Linked DNA regions of Homo sapiens: region 2 is linked to region 1. Evidence: promoter capture Hi-C in 16 types of primary human blood cells and fetal thymus (Javierre and others, 2016). All regions are on one chromosome and are shown on one strand. Each heading gives the region's core, a stretch centred on a gene start or on the middle of the fragment in contact. The rest is flanking DNA. Distances are from core to core; before and after follow the strand shown. Region 1 holds the start of CABP7 (calcium binding protein 7). Region 2 overlaps MTMR3 (myotubularin related protein 3).

Region 1 (5,622 bases), core at 1,899-4,398:
AGCCTCTTACCCCCGCAGGGCCTCCCCTCATGTTGCATCTGGGTCCCTGAGCCCCCTGTGCTAGGTAGGTACTTTCACTGCATCCTCCATCACCAGCCCCCCTTTTATAGGTGGGGAAACCAAGGCTCAGAGAGGTGAGCGATTGCCCAAGGTCACTCCATGAGCTGAAGGTGCAGAGACTCAAACCCAGCGCCGCCTGGCTGGGAAGCCCTCATCTTAACTCTGTGCTTCCCACCTCCCTGCCTGGTCCTCCTTTCCGCTCAGACTGACCGCCCCCTGGATTTCTGCGGCAGGCACGTACTGTCTGCAGCATTCCATCCCGGGCTGCCCAGCTCCCTCTTCCTGGCACATGTGGCTCCTCCGCGAATGGCGTCCTCCCGGCAGAGGGCCTGGGTCTCGCCCAGACCGCCCTGGGGCAGGAGCACTCATGAGGCCCTGCAGAGGCGGAGAGGGCAGAGGGGGATCCGTGCCAGGAATGGCCAGCCCTGGCATTCAAGGACTGCTGAAAGGGACCTGGGGCCGCCAGAGGGCTTTTAGGGCACCTGCAGCCAAGAAGGGGGCTGGTCATGGAAAACTTCTTGCCTTCATCTGTAGCTGCCCACTGGGCCAGAGATGAGCTGGGACCACCCAGGCATCTGTCTACTCCATGACCCCACCTGCCCATCCCAGGGAGGGCCCTGCCCTTCAGATGCCCCCTGAGTCAGGGCCCCTCAGCTCCCCAGGGCCCAGGAGAAGGGGACAGGAGAGAAGCGGGGAGGGCACTTGTTGTGGCTGGTGACTAACGCAGCTGGGCTCCTGCCAGCACGCCATGTCGTTGGTTGGGGAGCCTGCGGCCTTGCCCCTGCACTGCCCACCCTGCGGCCCCTCGCCCCTGCAGCCAGCCTCTCAGCCTCTCCCCTTCCTCAGGGAGTGCACTCCAGGACTGGGGATCAGGAGAGGAGGGACCCAGAAAGGGCTGGAGTTGGGGTGGTGGGGTCCTGGTGGGGGTGCTGGGAGCAAGGGGAGGGAGTGAAGCGGAAGCTGCCTGGGGTCTGGGAGACATGGTGACTCCTGCTTGGATGGTCAGGAGGAGGGGATGGATGAGGGCCTCTGGAGGGAAAAATCTGCAGGAGGTTTGAGGTGGCCCAGGGCCGGAGGGGACAAAGGTGGGGAGGAGAAGGCCTATGCTCCATCTCCTGACCTTTCGCCCCCCACCATCGTACCCCTCCTTTCCCCGGGCTCTGGAGGAGGCTCTGGCCCTGGGTTTTAGGGGTGAATGGTGAGGTCATGTCGGGGGGCCCCAATCATCCATCTGTCCTGTCCGCATCAGACCCCAGACCCTGTCTCCACAGCTCTCCCCGCTTCTGAGGGTTTGCAGGGGCAGTTGGTGAGGAGCCTGGTGGCTCATGCCTATGGTGCAGTGAGCGAGGCAGAGGCTGCCTTCTCTCTCTGGATCTTCCCCCGACCCATTCTGACTCCTCTAAGATCTGCCCTCACCCTGGGCCTGGGTTGAGGGAGGACCTCCCTCCATGGCTTCCCCTGGGCTCCCACCATCCTCCCTGACTGTGCTGGTCTTGGCTGCACCCTCCCAGGCCCTAATGAGCCTCCAGATCTCAGAGACCCCTGGATCCAAGGTACCCCGAGAGGCCCATCCTCTGGGTGAGCTCAGCCCCTTGCAACAGCAGACATGCAGATCCCAGGAGGCCGTGACCCCCATCAGCCCAGATCCCCCACTCCACTCCATATGGGGGCTCCAGGAGGTCTGGGGGGAGGGGAAACCTCAGCACCTCCCCCAGCCCAGCAGGGAAGGAGCTGGGCGGGCCCCAGGGGTCTCACTGCTCCTCAGGACACACTGTCCCGGACCCCTGCCCCTGCCCTCTGCTCTGACCTCGCCCAGCCAGCGGCCTGCCATCCCCCTGCGAGTCTGAGAGGCAGGGGGAACGGGGTGGGGGCGGGTTTGGGTCCTGGCCTCTCTGCCTTTCCCTTCCAGGCTTGGCTATCGCGACTTAGCCGCCCAGTCCGGCCACTTGTTGTCGCCACCGCCTCCCGGGCCGCCTTCCCGGCGCGCCGGGCTGGGGGTCCCCGCAGGGCTGCAGGGAAGGGGCTACGGCCGCAGGTGGGGACGGGGGCGGCCCCGCAGCGGGCAAGAGCAGGGCAGTCGCCCTCTCCCCTTCTGCTGCTGCCCGAGCAGATTGAATTTTTAAAGCGACACGAGCGGAATGTCAATGCGAGCAGAGAGCCGCGGGCGGGCGCCGCGGAGGGGATCAGGATGCGGGTGCTCCGGCCGGGCCGGCGCTGGGGGCTCAGCGCGGACCCCCGCCCCAGTCCGCCGCGTTGCCGCACCGTCACCGCCGACTGCGCGGCCCCGTGACCCCGCTGCGGGGCCCGGCAAGTTTCCGCAGCGCTGGGGACCACGCGGGCAGGGGCTGGGCCGCTCTCCGCCTGAGCGACCCCCACCGCGGCGCCCCGGGGTGCGGACAGGTCTTGCCGCGGGGCACAGCTGCTAGCTGGGGCGCCCACCTGGCAACCGGCACCTGCGGACCGCCCCCCGCCCCCCGCCCCCGCGCCCCTGGCCCGCGCTTCACCTGGGCGCACAGGTAGGAGGGCCGCCGGGGCGGGGATCCCGGCGGACACTCACCCTCCAGCTCGTCCTCCGGGATGTCCACCGGGCGCTGCTCCGACAGCAGGTTGGGCACGGTGTAGATGCCCCGGTACATCAACGCCGCCGTCACCGGGTGGAACGGCATCTTGGAGGCTCCGCGCCCGCCCGCCCGCCGCAAACTTTGAGGCCGGGGCTCATGGGCCGGTGGCGGCCCCGGGGGCGGCTGGAGCGGGCGGGGCGCGCGGCTGCGGAGGGCGGCGGCGGCAGCGGCGAGGCTGGGGACGCCCCTCCGGGGGCCTAGCGCCCCCGCGCCCCGGGCCGCCGGGCCATGCCGCCCGCTCCCTCGTCGGGCTCCCAGCCGGGGCCCCGCAGGGGCAGCGGGGGCGGCGCCGCTCTGGCCTTTCCGAGAGCTCCGGCTGCCTCGCGCGGTGCCCGCCGCGCCCGCTCCTCGGTGCCCCGCGCGCTCCGCGCTGCTCGCCGCCCGCTAGTCCGCTCGCCGGCGCGGCCGCTACCGGCCCGGCGCTCAGGCTGTAGCCGCCTCTCCGCTCGCTCGCTCGCTCGTTCTGTGCCGCGCTGGCTGCGCTCCCCGCCTCCCCCGCCAGCCGCCCGCCCGCCCCCTCCGCGCTCCCCACCCCCAGCCCGCCCCTTCCCGCCGCCGGCCCCTGAGCGGCCGCCCCAAACCTGCCCGGGGCTCCTTCTCCCCTTCGGCCCCGATTCCCCTTTCCCACTAGGGCTCCCCTCTGTTCACTGGCTCTCCTCACCCTAAGTCTGCAGCCACCAGGACCAGGGAGGGGGTGGGTTGCGGGGGTCCTCCTTCCTGCCCCTTGGCTCACCTTCCCCCATCCACGCACCAGGAGCGGAGAGCCCGGAACTAAGAACTGTAGACCCAGAGAGGTGAGACTGGCCCCAAGCACCTGGGTCCTCAAGAAGAGTCACCGTTTCCGTGCCAGGAGGATCCAAGGTGGGGAAACTGAGGCTGAGAGAGAAGGACGTTGACCAAGGTCACAGGGCAGGAGCAGCAGGTAAGAGCTGGGTACACGTCTGGGGTAGGCTTCCTGCCCTGCCTGTGACTGACACCCTGCCGCTGACCTTGCTCCCCACAATGGGGCCCCAGTCCCGGACCCTTCCCAAGCCCCTACCTTTCAGCTTGCAGAAGAGGAGCCAAAGTGTCTCATGGCCCCCAGGGCAGTTCGGGACAGAGACATGGCCCGGTGCCTGTGGGGTCTGGTGTGAGGGCCTGCCAGTTCACATGGCTGCAGCTCAGACCTAATGTATGTGCAGGGCTTCCCCAGGCCCCAGGGCACGTCGGCACCCCAGAGCTGGGGTGGGGGCAGGTGTTTGAGGGAGCAGCCTGCGTGTGCATATGTCTGCTATCCATGAGGGTGTGTATGTGCCACTGGGCACGTGCGCAGGTGTCTGTGACTCCATATGCAGATGGACAAATGTCGGGAGTGTGTGGCCACCTGTGTGTGCCAAGGTTGTACGCTGGCAGGTCGGGGGAGGTGTGCAGGCCCTGGGGCTGGGAGTGGTGTGGGCATATGGTGCACAGATGTGCATGGGAGGGGGTGACCTTCTGGCCTGGCTGTGGCCCCATCTCTGGGTGCTTCCCTGAATCCCCCTACTGGGACCACCTCCCTGCCCCCTTTGGCCCAATCAGCTAAAGGTCCCAGCAGGAACGCTGATTGCACAGCCCTGCCCGGTCCTGCCCTGCCCTTCCCAAGCTGATTACACTTTTCTGCTTGTTTCTGTTTTTGTTACTGATTAATCGCAGCCTTGTCTCAGGGTCTGGGGAGAAGGGGCTCAGTGAGAGATGCTAGCCCCAGCCAAGCGGGGTTGGGTCAGCCTGGGCCCAGCACTTCCTGGGCCCTGCTCTGGAGGGAGCTCCTAGAAACATCTATAACCTGCGGAGGAGCCAGGAAGGACACCAGCTGTCTGTCTGTCTCCCCAGACCTCTCCGGGCTAGCTGGTTGCCCACTGGGACCTGGGCCTGGAGGTGAGAGAGGCCCCAGAAAAGCTCCCACCCCACTCCAAAGCTCTCCTTGCCCACCTGTCCCATCTTCTGACCTTCCACCGCTAGAGCTGAATGCCTTGAGCTTCCCCAGTGTTTTTGATGGAGCAGAGACTTGAGGAAGTAAGAACCCAGCACCAAGAGCCAGGCAGACTGGGGCTTCTGCATCCACCATCTCCTCACCATGGAACTACAGTCAGGTCCCTTAACCGGCCATAGCCTCAGTTTCCCTGCCTGTTAAGGTGGCAGTGCCACATCCCAGGCAGCGGTGAGGATGAAGTGACATAATGTAGGAAAGGTGCCGGGCATCACCTCCCTGAAACTCTTGGGAGTTTCCTATTAGCATGAACATCCCCCCCAAGGAATAGGAATTAATAATAATTATAGCTTCGAGTATTGATTGAGAGAGCGAGCCGCAGCAGCAGCTCAGTCGTTCCACGTTTACTAAGTGTCCAGGCTGTGCCAGCCCAGGCCTGTCAGTTCTAAATCAGAACCCCTGGGCCAAGGGAGAGTGGGCTAGAGCCTGCTGAGAGGCTGGCAGGAAACCCAGCTCCCAGTGACTCCCTGGGAGGCCGCTGCAGAGCGTGTTGGTACTCGCCCTGTGAAGGGGAAGCTCCTGGGCTTGCTGTCCAGGTGGGTATTTTTTTTTATTTTTTTAGGTGGAGTCTTTCTCTGTTGCCCAGGCTGGATTGCAGTGGCATGATCTCGGCTCACTGCAACCTCCGCCTCCCAGGTTCAAGTTATTCTCATGCCTCAGCCTCCCGAATAGCTGGGACTACAGGCACATGCCATCACACCCAGCTAATTTTTGTATTTTTCGTAGAGAACATGTTGGCCAGGCTGGTCACAAACTCCTGACCTCAAGTGATCTACCCGCCTTGGCCTACTAAAGTGCTGGGATTACAGGCGTGAGGCACCACTCCCAACCCATGGTGGCTTTTTTTTTTTCAAGTCAAGGGAATTCCAGGGGTCAAGAGGAGGGTGGGCAAAAGCTCAGAAGTGTGAGAGGGCCTCTCTTAGCTCTGAAGGGCAG
Region 2 (5,622 bases), core at 2,138-4,637, 190 kb before region 1:
CTGAGGCAGGAGAATCACTTGAACCCGGGAGGCTGAGGTTGCAGTGAGCCAAGATGGCATCACTGCACTCCAGCCTGGGTGGCAGAGCGAGACTCCATCTCAATGAATGAACAAATGAATGAATGAAGGAGACCGTCAGCCTAAATAAAAAAGCGAGACCTAACTATGTGCTAATCACAAGAAATGCATTGCAAATATATACACAGACTAAAAGTAAAAGGATGGGAAAAAATTATGCAAATACTGTGGTAATAAAGCTACAAGAGTTATATTCATGTTAAAGTAGCCTGGGGGATGGCAAATATTATCAAAATAAAGTGGGACAAGTCATTATAAAAGAATGAATTTACTGAGAAGACATAACAATCCTAAATATGTATGTACCTAAAAACAGAACTTCAAAATATATGAGACAGAACTGGTAGAACCAAATATTTGTCTTTTCAAAGACACAAAACATTCACCACAATAGACCATATGCCTTACCACAAAACAAATCTCAAATTCTGAAATCCTGAAAAAGACTGAAATCCTATAGAGTATGTTCTCTGACCACAATGGAATTAAATTAGTAACAGTAAAATATCTACAGGAAGTTAAACATCAAACTTTTATAATTCATAGGCCAAAAAAGACATTAAAAGAGAAATTAGAAAATATTCAAACTGAATAGTAGTACACAATATGTCATTTTGTGAGCTGCAACTGAAGCACTGCTCAGAGGAAAACTCAGATATTCACAGTATATACAAAAAGGCAACCCTACACTTACTTCTCTCAGTATTAATTTGAAGTGTTTCACAGACCCAAATGTCAAACAAAGCTATAAACTTCCAGAATAAAATTTAAGAAAATATTAGTGACCTTAGGTTTAGAGACAATTCCTTAGATAGGCTTTTAAAAAGATCATTAACTCAAAAAGAAAAAAAAAATAACTGACTACATAAAGATTAAGTTTTTGCTCTCTGAAAGACACTGTTAAGAATGAAAAGGCAAGCCACAAATTACAAGAACATATTTGCAAAACATGTAATTTACAAAACCTGTTATGAAGGACTCATATTCAGAATACATTATGAACTCACAATAAACAAAAAACAACCTATTTTAATGAGCAAAAGATTTGAACAGACACTTCACCAAAGACATATAAATGGCAAATAAGCACATGAAAAGATAATCATCATTAGTCATCTGGAAATTACAAACTAAAACCATGATGATGTATTGCTACAGACCCACTAGAATGACTTAAGTTAGTAAGAATGACAATACCAAGCATCAACAAGGATTTGGAGCCCTGGAATTCTCATGCATTGCCAGTGGGAATGCAAAATAGGCCGTTACTTTAAAAACTATAAACACACTTACCCTACAATCCTGCAATTTCTACTCCTGGATTTTTAACCAAGAGAAATGAAAATATATGTCCACACAAAGATCTATGTTGCAAATATTCAGAGGAGATTTATTCGTAATAGCCAAAAACTGGGCCGGGCGTGGTGGCTCATGCCTGTAATCCCAGCACTTTGGGAGGTTGAGGTGGGCGGATCACGAGCTCAAGAGATCAGACCAACCCGGCTAACAAGGTGAAACTCCGTCTCTACTAAAAATACAAAAAATTAGCCGAGTGCGGTGGCATGAGCCTGTAGTCCCAGCTCCTCAGCAGGCTGAGGCAGGAGAATAGCTTTAACCCAGGAGGCGGAGGTTGCAGTTAGCCGAGATCTCGCCACCGCACTCCAGCCTGGGCGACAGAGCGAGACTCCGTCTCAAATAAATAAATAAATAAACCCAAAACCTGGAAAAAAAAAAAACCCCAATATCCATTAACTAGTAAATAAAGGAATTGTGGAATATCCATACAATGGACTACTACTTAGCAATTAAATGGAACAACTACTGCTTTTAACAATATGAATGATTCTCAAAGCATTATACTAAAATGAAAGAGGACAGGCACAAAATAGTATATCCTGTATGATTTCATTTATATTACATCCTAGAAAAAAGGCAAAATTTGTGCAAATTATACCTCTCTAAGGCTGATTTTTTAACCATGTGGCAGCAAAAAGAGTCAAAGGTATACATATGTGCTCTGGTTAAGACCAGTATTTTCCCTAAATCTTAGTTACAGAAGGCTCTGAGAAGTTAATGACTTGCCCCAAATTAGTAACCAGTGGAAACATGTTTTGGGATATAGATCACTTTACTGTAAATATAAACTTGGAATGTACGCTTTAGGAATGATTAAGAAGATCTGTATAACTAAGACCCTTTGTTTCTGTTTTTGTTTTGAGATGGGAGTCTCGCTGTTACCCAGGCTAGAGTGCAGTGGTGCAATCATGGCTCACTGCTGTCTTGATGTCCTGGGCTCAAGCAACTCTCCTACCTCAGCTTCCTGAGTAGCTGGGACTATAGGTGAGCACCACCACAGCTGGATAATAATTATTATTATTATTTTGTAGAGGGGGTCTTGCAATGTTGCCCAGGCTGGTCTCAAACTCCAGGCCTCACAAGTGATTCTCTCGCCTCGGCTTCCCAGAATGCTGGGATTACAGGTGTAAGCCACTGTGCCTGGCTGACTAAGACCCTTTCGATGGAGCTCCAGAACTATGTTTAACTCACAGTTAAGTATTAAAGGAAGTTTCAATTTACATAGGCAAGCCAGCTAAAACAGTTCAGGCCAAGAGTTGGATGATGTAGCACAGACATCTCAAATACTTAGCTTACCACAATCTTGGCCAATGGTCAAGTTTATTTTGGGACTGGAATATTTAAAAGTCCTTCATATTCTCTGCAGCTCCTACACATTGATCCTATTAAGGCCTTCCAATTCTGAATCTTTTAGGTACTCACCTTTCATTCTCACCTAATGCATTACCTCCAGGCAAATGGGGTGGTAAAGAAGAACTGGACTTTGAAAGGCAACATAATGACAACAGCTTATTAAAAAGCAAGACAAGGCCAGGTTTGGTGGCCCATGCCTGCAATCCTCCTAGCACTTTGGGAGGCTGACACAGGAGGATCGCTTGAGTTCTAGATAAGCCTGGGCAACATAGCGAGAACCCATCTCTACTAAAAATTTTAAAATTAGCCAGGCATGGTAGCGCACACCTGTAATCCCAGCTACTTGGGAGGCAGGAGGATCCTTTGAGCCCAGGAGTTTGAGGCAGCAGTGTGCTATGATCATGCCACTGCACTCCAGCCTGGGTGACAAAGCGAGACTTTGTCATTCATTTCTTCATTCATTCATTCATAAACATAAATAAATAATAAAAAGACAGGAAAACTGATCTTAATACCTAATTAGCCACATCAACTTTAACCTTAGCATAAAAAAAACAAATTAAGACTTTTCTTCATCTCTACCATCAACTCATTTTGCAGAAGTCTAACATTTAATCCACAAGTGGGCAATCCATGAAACCTAAAGCAATTACTACAAGTTCACTAATGCTTACTATACATACCTCACCTCTTCATTTCCTCTTGTCTGACTTTTCACCGAGTTTTTCTCCCCTCTCTTTCTGACCCTTTTATATGTTTATCATAGCTACTTTGTAAGAAAACAATAAAGAGGATATTTATGCCTAATCAGTGAAAAGTACTGACTTTATATCTTTGCTATTGTACTTATTATGGTGATAAGCTCTTTAAGGGAAACTTCTACACTGTATAGGCATAAATAATGGGAAAGGAATACTGATTAATTCTATACCCATTATGAACACTTTTCCCTCTAAGCCATTGAAAAATGGAAGATACTTTACTATTTTCACTCCACTGATCCTGAATATTATCTCATATATAAACTGAGTGTACCTATATATATTGTTTACCCTGAGATTAAAGTCCAAACTATTTTTTAAATACGTAGAAAGCCCACTGGAGAAATGGTCAGACTAACATTAAATATACTGGTCAAAATTCTCAGTTGTAAGTAAAAAAAAAAAAACCCAAATCAAGCTATTTTACACAAAATTAAAAAAAAATTTTTTGAGACACAGTCTCACTCTGTCACCCAGGCTGGACTGCAGTATCGTGATCATGGCTCACTGCAACCTTGACCTTCCAGACTCAAGGGACCCTCCCATGTCAGCATCCCAAGTAGTTGGGACCACAGGCGTGTGCTACCACACCTGGCTAATTTTTTTATTTTTTGTAGAGACAAGTCTCCCTACGTTGCCCAGGCTGGTCTCCAACTCCTGGGCTCAAGCAATCGTCTTGCCTCAGCCTCCCAAAGTGCTGTGATTACAGGTGCGAGCCACCACACCCAGCCCAAAAATCAGAATTTAATGGCTCACAGGATAATGAGATGCTGCGTAGAAACAAGGAAAAAAACTTCAGGACCAGGGCCTCAAAGGCACAGTGCCATGGGATCCATCTCTATCTCATGCTCCTCTTTACTTGTTTGGCCTCATTCTGGTTTCATTCTCTTCCACTGCAGACAGACCTCCTGCCTGGGGTAGGGCAGGAATGAAAGAATCTCAAAAACAAGAAATCCAGTGCATGTTCTATTCCTTTTACTAGTATAATTAAGTGTTGGACGCAGATCCCTAATGTTCAAAAAATATGATTTAAGGATACAACTTAGGAATTATCAATAATCCTACTAAACATAAAAGTTAAGAAAATCTAACCCCTGGCACTGAACCACTAACTTATAATTACAGAAAGTCCTGTCACACATGCTCTGGTTTCTCTTCATAATGAATAAATCTTTTTGCCTTTTACTAAAGATTTCCGTGGAGAGTTGAGGCCTTGCTTAGGCAGGGGTAAATATGAGAAAGAAAAAAAAAGTCTTAACAGGTTAAAAAAAAAAAAAAGGAAAAGAGGCATAAAAGTCAATTTAATGGGCTTATATATATGACAGTTTAGCAAGAAAGAGGGCAATCTCATTTTAAAAATTTACTCAATAACAGCACAAATTTGAAACTAAAGTGTGAGACTCCTACTTTTGGTTATCATATAGTCGCCACAGTAATGACTAAAATTCATGTAGCACTCACATAGCTAACTCTCCCTGAAGAAATGCTTCCTTTCTCAAGAGGTTTAAGTGGAAAGGAATATGAAATTTCTTAACACATCTATGTTCGAAATAACTTTGTTTCAGGAGTAATCACTCTGAAACAACTGAGTGTTAAATAAAAACCAGCAACCCCCAAATCTTTGCTGATCCATCACTTTAACTGATCAGTTTACTACCAACTACAGTATTTACCTTTCCAGTAACACTTCTAGTTCCATACAAACTGTTTTGTTCTACATAACTGCACTGGATTTGGATGTACACTCAGATTTTAAACGATGACCTACATTCAGTGGTGTGTGGGTACCTATAAAACACAGAAAAGGGCCCACTTTCTTTTTTTTTTTTGAGATGGAGTCTCGTTCTGTCACCCAGGCTGGAGTGCAGTGGCACAATCTCGGCTCACTGCAAGCTCCGCCTCCTGGGTTCACGCCATTCTCCTGCCTCAGCCTCCCGAGTAGCGAGTAGTGGGGACTACAGGCACCCACCACCATGCCCGGCTAATTTTTTTGTATTTTTTAGTAGAGACGGGGTTTCACCGTGTTAGCCAGGATGGTCTCGGTCTCCTCATCTCATGATCCGCCCGCCTCGGC

The links. The method cuts DNA at HindIII sites, captures the fragments that hold promoters and counts their contacts. A CHiCAGO score of 5 or more calls a contact.
Region 2: a contact is called between a fragment that was not itself captured here and the fragment with the promoter of CABP7 in region 1, in 3 of 17 cell types (neutrophils, erythroblasts and total CD4 T cells). The highest score is 15.6, in neutrophils.

What each region holds. Positions count from the first base shown.
Region 1 is chr22:29,717,529-29,723,150 of GRCh38, reverse strand. It overlaps CABP7 (calcium binding protein 7), which reads right to left and starts at 3,148. Exons shown (of 5, transcript NM_182527.3): 1 at 2,618-3,148. The coding sequence starts at 2,726. It overlaps CABP7-DT (CABP7 divergent transcript), which reads left to right and starts at 3,248. Exons shown (of 3, transcript NR_186695.1): 1 at 3,248-3,603. RefSeq lists an enhancer at 1,049-1,839. The HindIII fragment of the contact is 23,163 bases long and covers 1-5,622 here.
Region 2 is chr22:29,909,919-29,915,540 of GRCh38, reverse strand. All of the region lies in intron 1 of MTMR3 (myotubularin related protein 3), which reads right to left. It also overlaps the pseudogene RNU5F-5P. Among named protein-coding and RNA genes, the nearest start is that of MTMR3, 30 kb to the right of the region's middle. RefSeq lists an enhancer at 1,976-2,958. The HindIII fragment of the contact is 7,942 bases long and covers 1-5,622 here.